Linked DNA regions of Homo sapiens: region 1 is linked to region 2. Evidence: promoter capture Hi-C in 16 types of primary human blood cells and fetal thymus (Javierre and others, 2016). All regions are on one chromosome and are shown on one strand. The core of a region is centred on a gene start or on the middle of the fragment in contact, and the rest is flanking DNA. Distances in the headings are between cores, read along the strand shown.

The links. The method cuts DNA at HindIII sites, captures the fragments that hold promoters and counts their contacts. A CHiCAGO score of 5 or more calls a contact.
Region 1: a fragment that was not itself captured here is called in contact with the fragment with the promoter of PLA2G1B in region 2 in 3 of 17 cell types (total CD8 T cells, naive CD4 T cells and activated CD4 T cells); the score reaches 5.8 in total CD8 T cells.

Annotation. Positions count from the first base shown.
Region 1 is chr12:120,693,848-120,698,420 of GRCh38, forward strand. It overlaps MLEC (malectin), which reads left to right. Exons shown (of 5, transcript NM_014730.4): 2 at 244-422; 3 at 977-1,153; 4 at 1,248-1,305; 5 at 2,469-4,573. The coding sequence ends at 2,698. Among named protein-coding and RNA genes, the nearest start is that of MLEC, 9.0 kb to the left of the region's middle. The HindIII fragment of the contact is 1,687 bases long and covers 2,478-4,164 here.
Region 2 is chr12:120,324,344-120,329,099 of GRCh38, forward strand. It overlaps PLA2G1B (phospholipase A2 group IB), which reads right to left and starts at 3,436. Exons shown (of 4, transcript NM_000928.3): 1 at 3,377-3,436; 2 at 1,518-1,677; 3 at 591-718. The coding sequence starts at 3,410. RefSeq lists an enhancer at 1,333-1,392. The HindIII fragment of the contact is 6,320 bases long and covers 3,152-4,756 here.

The sequences.
Region 1 (4,573 bases), core at 2,071-4,570, 370 kb after region 2:
AGGTTTACAGGGGCTGTTGGCCTGATTAGTGTTTAGTTTCTTTCATTTTACTCTTCCATAGTAATGGCTGTATGATTCCTGCCTTTGTTGGAGCTCTGTTTGGAGCCAGGTGCAGAGTGGGTGGCCCCTTTTATGGAGAGGGTTATTAGCATTGCCCTGGAAATGCCTCTGGCTGTTCTGGGGTCTTTGCTTTTCTTTTGTGTCTTGCCTCTGATGTGCTTTCTCTTTGTCTTTTGTCCTCAGCCTCAGACTATGGCATGAAACTGCCAATCCTGCGTTCCAACCCTGAGGACCAGATCCTGTATCAAACTGAGCGGTACAATGAGGAGACCTTTGGCTACGAAGTGCCCATCAAAGAGGAGGGGGACTACGTGCTGGTCTTGAAATTTGCAGAGGTCTACTTTGCACAGTCCCAGCAAAAGGTGAGGCCTAGTCAGGCTGCTGCTTGACCAGTAGGACATTGCTGCTCTTGGACAATCCACGATTATGGGGCTAGAGAGTGTGAGAGTCTCTCCAGAAAGGCAGAACAGATGAGCTCTAGAGAAGCATGTTCCATAGTGCACAAGGCTGCACTTGCCTTGGGGGTGAGTGACAGAAAGCAATGCCAGAATCCTTGTTTTGCCAACTAACTGATCCTGTTAAGGCCCTCCTGGCTACTTCCCTCCATGGTTTGCCGCACCTTCTTGTTTTTAGCCTTATTTTTCCTCTGTCCCTTCCTGTGAATTTCCTTCTTCCTATGCTAAGCTTTTTGTTTGTATTCTTTGTTCCTTAAAGCCAATATAAGAACTCCTGGGCAGTGAAGGAACACGGCTTTGATTTGACCCGGGTTAAGGATGCTAACCACCCTGGATATCCAGACCCATCATTTCTTAAATTATTTTTGAACTTCAAGCCCAAACACGTGCATGATGTCCAACTGCTTGAAAGGATGTAAAGCTGATGGTTTTGACATTGTTTTCTTTTCTTATCCTGGAAGGTATTTGATGTACGATTGAATGGCCACGTCGTGGTGAAGGACTTGGATATCTTTGATCGTGTTGGGCATAGCACAGCTCACGATGAAATTATACCTATGAGCATCAGAAAGGGGAAGCTGAGTGTCCAGGGGGAGGTGTCCACCTTCACAGGGAAACTCTACATTGAGTTTGTCAAGGTAATTCCCCTATTCTGCCCATTGCTGAAGAGAGTGGGTACAGGGGAAGTTGTTTGCTGCTGTGTGGGGTTGACCACTGTTTCCCTTTTCCTAGGGGTACTATGACAATCCCAAGGTCTGTGCACTCTACATCATGGCTGGGACAGTGGATGGTAGGTTGTGTTCTGACCTGCTTTTTTGACTTGAGTGGAGGGATATGGTTGAGGAAGCCCTTGGGAGGTAATTGAGCTGATGACTATTTTGGAAACACTTAAAGCTAAATTGTAGGGGATTCAGAATCAGTTGGATAAGGATGAAGCATAACATGGTACTAGCCACAAGCTTTGGAGTCAGGTCTATGTATATCTTGTTGCTGCCATTTAATCAGATGTTTGTCTTGGATGGATGCTTTTAATTTCCCTATAAATTGGGATTAATAATGGTACCTATTGGTGTACCCTGACCTTTGTAGTCATTTGGGATCACCTAAAACTTGTCCTTATTCTGTTTGTTTGACATCTCTTTCCTAGGGGAAAAAAAGGTAAAAGGAGGAGTCCTGTAGGCTTTTGGTATGCTCTGAAAGATTCCAGCATTGCTGGACTGCACTGGGACAAAACTTCACTTATTTATGTCTCCTTATCCTTGGGATCAAGTCTTAGAGTATATTTCTTTCTCAGGGTTTAGATTCTCCTGGCTGCCAGCATCTCAGGCTGATTTTTGCAGAGAAAGCTGCGTCTTTGTGACATTTCTCCCCCATTCCACCTCTGTACCTTTCCCCAACTCAATCTTGAATGCACTGAGGATTTCATCCTGTTGTCTTGATGTCCCCCAAATGCTGATATTATGACATCTAGGAGGATGAATGTCTTACCACCAAACAGACCTGTGTTCAAGTCCCTGAGGAGGAGGCAGGACAGAGGGATAGTGTGTGCTGGGAACCCAGAACTCTCTGGGTCAACGTTTCTTCAGTTGTTGTGTGAATCAAAAGGGAATGTGGGCTTGTGGGAGGAGGAGGGATTTGAAAAGGCTAAAGTTTAGGCATTGGATCATTGTCCCTGTCCAGTCTGGTTATCTTGGGGCTCTGTAAAAGTAGAACAGGAAGGTAAGATAGTGAACCTCCCTATGAGCACGGCTTTTTCTACTTTCTAGTTAAATCTAAAGCTTTTGCAGCACTCTGCTGTTCTGTAGACCAGAGGCTATTTCTGCTACTTCTGGTCTTTTCTCTGGACCCGGGTTCAATCACAGCAATCTCTTTATTGTGGCTTATTTGCTGCTTTTAAGGGTCTCTCTTACTTAAATGCTGTGGGTCTTAACAGTGTTTTCTTCCTTGTGTTAGATGTACCAAAGCTTCAGCCTCATCCGGGATTGGAGAAGAAAGAAGAGGAAGAAGAAGAAGAAGAATATGATGAAGGGTCTAATCTCAAAAAACAGACCAATAAGAACCGGGTGCAGTCAGGCCCCCGCACACCCAACCCCTATGCCTCGGACAACAGCAGCCTCATGTTTCCCATCCTGGTGGCCTTCGGAGTCTTCATTCCAACCCTCTTCTGCCTCTGCCGGTTGTGAGAACAAATGACTATCCTGAACAGGGTGGAGGGGTGTGGGAAAGAAACCAGCCATATTGGTTTTGGTTTCTGTATTTTTCACAATGATTAATGAACAAAAACAAAGAGAAAAAAACACACATCAATTAAAGGAGACAAAAAGAGGCAGAGCGAGTAGAGAGCAGCCCTCATTCACCACCTGGTCCCAGACGTGCTTCAGTCCTCGTCCTCTCTTTGTGGCTGGCTCCCAGCCTTCTCTTTCCTCTTGAGGATACTTAGGGTAAACTGGATCCTTCCTGCTCAAGGATCCTCATTTGTATACCTAGTGGAAAGGACTCTGAACTCAGAGGAGTCACTGTTCCTTTTTTTAGGTTAGAAATTAACAGCAGGGAAATGCCATCTTATTACCTGAGACGACCAGCACTGGGAGTTAGGTACGGTCTGAAGTTATGTCTAGATAAGACTTCAGACGTCCTGGGATTGAAAGAATGTGTGTGAAGGGGTAGAATTTGTGCGGTAAAGACTTAAAAAAAAAAGTAGGGAGATTAAAAAAAAAGAAAGAAAATGCTTCCTTATCTGGAAGCCTTTCTGGATTAATCCAGTGATGGTCCCACCTTTAGTGTTTGAGCTTTGTCATTGCTTGTCTCCCTGGCATGTGCCAGTTATAGACTGTCCAGCATCCAAGACGTTTCGGTTATGTCGGGTCCTCAGATCGCCTCTGACTTGTTACCACAACAAATCATTTTGATTTCAGTGCCTGTTGGGGACTTGATTTCTTCTCAGTTTTGTTTGTTTGTTTGTTTCCTTAATCTGGCTCATTTGAAATTTCTTCTCCCTCTCAACCATCCCACTAAGTTATAGCCAAGAAGGGAAGGAGACACGGGGATTTGGGGTTCTCTGCTTGAATGTCTTCTCCTTTACCACCTCACCTTGTTGGTACCTCCCTCCCTGGATCTCTGAGCCAGCAGCCAGGAGGACCTGACCCAGCAGTTCTTTACTGGCCCCTTTGTAGGGCCTTGCTGCCAGGGGGCAGGGATGCTTTCCAGCCTGCAGCAACAGAACACTTGACCTTAAAAGTCTCTTCTGGTCTTTGGATTAGAAAAGGCTTATGTTAGCATAGCTTAAGAGCAACCTCAGAGATTTGAGCCCTACTAAGTGACTGACCACTGTTTAGAGTGTCTGGTATCTGATGTTCATTTATTCCCATGTTCTTGTGTGTCACAGTTCAGCCAGTTTTGGTTTATGCCTAGAGCTACTTCAAGGAACTAGACTAATTAGCTATATAGGCCCAGCGATGCTTCTTATTGATCTTAATAGTATGCCCCTCCTTCCCCTGTCCTTTCATTTCTCTATCCAAGTAGCAGTCAGGTTCTTGGTGTGATGGGACTGAAAGAATTCCAGTCAGCCAGAGCCTTGGCAGCTCTGAAGCTAACCTTAGCATCTAAGTGTCGATCTTGAATTCCCTGAAAAAATTTCTATAGGAAATGAAGCTTCCCTGGTCCCCTCCTTTCTGGCCATTGTCATCCATTTCCCAGTTAGGGCAACAATGAAGGAGGACCCAGCCAAGCTAGAAGGAATTTTGTGGATGGGAGACAGCAGGATTAGCTTCAGCTTGGGCTGGAGCAGTCAATATAGGATCTCAGGCCAGGCCCGCTTTTCTAGAATGTGTTTAATTTTGAGTTTGCTTTATTAGATATGTTTTTTAAGAGCTCTGTATATTTGAACTGCTCCTTATGTGACAAAATAGGTAGCTCTTGGGCTCATGTCCTGGGTTTTGGCTCTTTAATGATTACTCCAGGCCAGCATTTAGTCGTTTGAGAATTGTAGCCTGTTGTTTTCGCTGTGACTTGGGTCTCAGTGCTAGGGTATTGAGTCAGGCAGCTGGAGGGTTGTGGCC
Region 2 (4,756 bases), core at 2,186-4,685:
CTTACATTCTATTGGAAAGATGGAATGTAAAGAAATAAGTAGCCGCACATGGTGGCTCACCCCTGTAATCCCAGCACTTTGGGATGCCAAGGTAGGAGGATTGCTTGAAGCCAGGAGTTTAAGACAAGCCTGGCCAACGTAGTAAGACCCAGTCTCTACAAAAAAATTTTTTTAATTAGCCAGGCGTGGTGGTGCACGCTCGTAGTCCCAGCTACTTGGGAGGCTGAGGTCAGCAGATCCCTTGAGCTCAGGAGGTTGAGGCTGCAGTGACCTATGGTTGCACCACTGTGCTCATGCCTGGGTGACAGAGCAAGACCCTGTCTCTAAACAACAACAAAAAAAAACCCAAACTGTCACCACTTACAAGCTGTGTGATCTTGGGCAAATAGCTCAGCCTTCTGAGCCTCAGTTTTCTTATCTGTTAAGTGAGGATAATTGTACCTATCCCATAGTGTTGTTCTGAGGATTAAAGGAGACACTGCCCAGAACCAAGAAAATTAACACTAAATCATGGCTGTTGTTACTATTATTTCCCCCCGGCCTACTGAGAACCAACTAGAATTCATAGGTCAAGGAAGGGATAAACCTACTGCTACAGGTGATTGCCGAGCCAGAGCACGAGTATGAATAGGTGTGGGTGTACGGGTTGTCCAGCAGAAATTTACAGCTGTCCAGCTTCTTGGCCTGGTCATAGCAGTTGTCATGTGTCTGGCAGCACCTGGAAAGTGGGAGGGACAGCTGAGATAGGAGTAAGTGCAGAGCAATAGGTCAGCCCTCACCTGCCCACTCTCAGGAACAGGTGGGGATGACTTCGCCAAGATGCTTCAGGAGAAATGATCCTATGGCTTGAAAAAATATAAGTCCTTTTATCATATATTTATTGAAAGCATTTTTTTTTTTTGAGACAGAGTTGCTCTGTTACCCAGGCTGGACAGCAGTGACACGACCTTGGCTCACTGAAACCTCCAACTCAGTCTCCCAAGTAGCTGGGGTTACAGGCGCTCGCCACCATGTCCGGCTAATTTTTGTATTTTTTAGTAGAGACAGGGTTTCACCATGTTGGCCAGGCTGGTCTCGAACTCCTGACCTCAAGTGATCCGCCCGCCTCGGCCTCCCAAAGTGCTGGGATTACAGGCATGAGCCACCGCGCCTGGCCTGAAAGCGATTTTTAACATGGTTGCAAGAATACAGTAAAATCCTGTATTCAGAAGGTGCAGTGACAACCACTGCTAGAAAATGACACGTGGATAGTTGCTGTGATGTTTACTGTTGCTACATTCTGCCACTGGAGGGCAGCATCGCCCACTGTTTTGCACGTCGGTCATTGTTTCCATCTCTAACGGGGTGCGTTCGCTACAGGGTCCTCTTGGAACATATTTGTTTATTTGACAAGAGGTGAAAATATGTTATCCTTAGCAGATATGCAAGTCCCCTTTGTATGCCTCGTGAGATCCTTGGCGTGTGCCCCACCCCGCCCCCGGCAGGCACTCCAATTTTCCTGCAGGCGGATCACTTACTTGTCCAGTTCATCCACGGGGGTGCCTGAGCCCCCCAAGCCACAGTAGCAGCCGTAGTTGTTGTATTCCAAGAAGGGGTCACTCCCCGGGATCACGCACTTGATCATTTTGCGGAACTGCCACACGGCCCGAGGGCTGATGCCGCTGTCGGCGGCGGCCACTGCAAGAAGACATAGCCAGAGTTCAAATCGGTCTGCCAGCACCCCGGGGACACACTGCCTTCCTGCTCCCTCGGGTCCCACGCTGCCTCCCTGACCCCTGCCAGCTGCCTCCTCTGAAGACCGTTGGACCCAGGAACCTGGTAAAGTGAAAGTGGGTAGAGGTTTTTTTTTTTTTTTAATGAAAACTTTATATATATAAAGTTTATATCTTTGTGTGTGTGTATATATATATATATCTTCTTCTTTTTCTTCTTCTTCTTCTTCTGGGACCCTACCGCCTCAGCTAGGATTACAGGCATGTGCCACCCAGCTAGGCCTGATAGTTTTTTTTTTTTTTTTGAGATGGAGTCTTGCTCTGTTGCCCAGGTTGGAGTGCAGTGACACGATTTCAGCTCACTGCAAACTCTGCTTCCCGGGTTCACGCCATTCTCCTGCCTCAGCCTCCCTAGGTCAGATAGTTTTAAACTATCTGCACTGTTTATCCAGTGAATATTTATTGAGCACTTACTATGTGCCAGGCTCTGTCCTAGGAGCTAGAGATACAGCAGTGAACAGATATAATAATAATAATAATAATAATAATAATAATAATAATAATAATAATCTCTAACCTCATGGAGCTTACAACCTAGTGGGAGAGAAAAACAATAAATAATAAATGTGATAAGGCCGGGCACGGTGGCTCATGCCTGTAATCCCAGCACTTTGGGAGGCCGAGGCAGGCGGATCACAAGGTCATGAGATCGAGACCATCCTGGCTAACACGATGAAACCCCGTCTTTATTAAAAATACAAAAAAATTAGCGGGGCGTGGTGGCAGGCGCCTTTAGTCCCAGCTACTGGGGAGGCTGAGGCGGGAGAATGGCGTGAACCCAGCAGGTGGAGCTTGCAGTGAGCCGAGATCGCACCACTGTACTCCAGCCTTGGCGACAAAGCAAGACTCTGTCTCAATAATAATAAGAATAATAATAAATGTGATAAGTAAGGAAACTGGATACTGCATTAGAAAGGGGAAGAATAGAGCAGGATGAGGAGAATCTAAAAGGGAGGTCACCCAGCCTGGCCAACATGGTGAAAACCTGTCTCTACCAAAAAAAACACACAAAAAATTAGCTGGGCATGGTGGTGTGTGCCAGCTACTTGAGAGCTACAAGTCCCAGCTACTTGAGAGGCTGAGGCAAGAGAATTATTTGAACCCAGGAGATGGAGGTTGTAGTGATCTGAGATCACGCCACCGCACTCCAGCCTGGGCGACAGAGTGAGCCCCGTCTCAAAAATAAAATAAAGTAAAATAAAAATAAAAATTAAAATAAAATAAAATAAATGGGAGATTGGCCTAACTACTTAGTTGAGTAAGGTGGGAGGATCACTTGAGCCCACGAGTTGGAAGCTGTGGTGAGCTATGATCATGCCACTGAACTCCAGCCTGGGTGATAGAGCAAGACCCTGTCTGGAAAAAAGAAAATAAAGGCAAGCTTTCTTAGCTCAGGCAATCTGAGTTCAGACTTGCAGGTTGAAAAAGTGCCAGCCTTGAGGGAACCCCAATAGAGGAGCCCTTAAGCCCCACTGGGAACCTCGAATTGAGACTGCGGGGCTGGCCATCCCTGTTTGCTGTGGCCTGTGGCCCCCATTCCAGAGGAGTGAGATCTTAGCTCACTTGGGAGAGAAAGGCGGGTGGAGCCGGGGAGACTTGCCTACCTGTGAGCAGCACAGCTAGCACAAGGAGTTTCATCTTGCAGTCAAGGTGAGAAAAGAACTGAGATGACCAGTCTCAGGTATAGTCTTATAGTCAGTCTCCACACAACCCTGCCCAGATAAGGCTGGAGTGTTTGCTTTGCTCTTGGCTGAGTTTGGGGCTGGCCTTGAATCTGTCTGTTGCAGGAATGACCCTGACGATTTGCCAGCATGGGATCACTGGAAAATATGTTATGCATTTGTCCTTAGCAACTGTTAACCAAAGGGATGGTTTCTGGAGTTTTCAGATCTTACAATCTTGACCCTCATACCCACCACTTTGTACTCAGCCCAGCTTCACGGGCTGGTTGGGGAAAGCAAAGCCGTCAGTTCAGTCGGACGCTGGGATAAGGGAGACAAGAAGGAAGTGCAGCCTGGGCAACATAGAGAGACCTCATCTCTAAAAAAAAAAATGTTAACCAGGTGTGGTGGTGGATTGCACCTGTGATCCCAGCAACTCAGGAGGCTGAGATGGGAGGATCTCTTGAGCCAGGGAGGTCAAGGCTGCAATGAACAGTGATTGAGCCTCTGCAGCAGAGTGAGACCCTATTTCAAAAAAAAAAAAAAAAAAAGAAAGAAAGAAAAAAGATCGCTGCCTGCAGCCTCAATGTCTTATCAAGTGCCTGAATCTGTGCACTGGGTCTGGTTGAATAGTCCCATCAGTCGTGCACCTTGCAGATAAAGAGACAGGTTCAGAGAGTTGCGGTAACTTGCCCAAGGTCACACAGTTGGCAAATGACAAAATAGGGCTCCAGTTTAGATCTGTCTGATTCCAAGGCAGAGGTTTTATTTTTTTCCACCACTCCGCTCTGCAGTGTGGGTTTGTGAGAAAAACCTGGGCTTTGGATTCCAAAGGCCTGAGTCTGAATTATAGAATACTAAAGGGCATTAGAACTGTCATATCAGAGGCCAGGCACGGTGGCTCATGCCTGTAATCCCAGCACTTTGGGAGGCTGAGGCTGGCAGATCACCTGAGGTGGAGAGTTCGAGACCAGCCTGACCAACATGGAATAACCCTGTCTCTACTAAAAACACAAAATTAGCCAGGCATGGTGGCTTATGCCTGTAATCCCAGCTACTCCGGAGGCCGAGGCAGGAGAATGGCTTGAACCCTGGAGGCGGAGGTTGCGGTGAGCTGAGATCACGCCATTGCACTCCAGCCTAGGGAACAAGAGCAAAACTCCATCTCAAAAAAAAACCTGTCACATCACATATCTATTTATTTATATATATTTTTTGAGACGGAGTCTTGCTCTGTTGCCTAGGCTGGAGTGCAATGGCGCGATCTTGGCTCACTGCAAGCTCTGCCTCCCAGGTTCATGCCATTCTCCTGCCTCAGCCTCC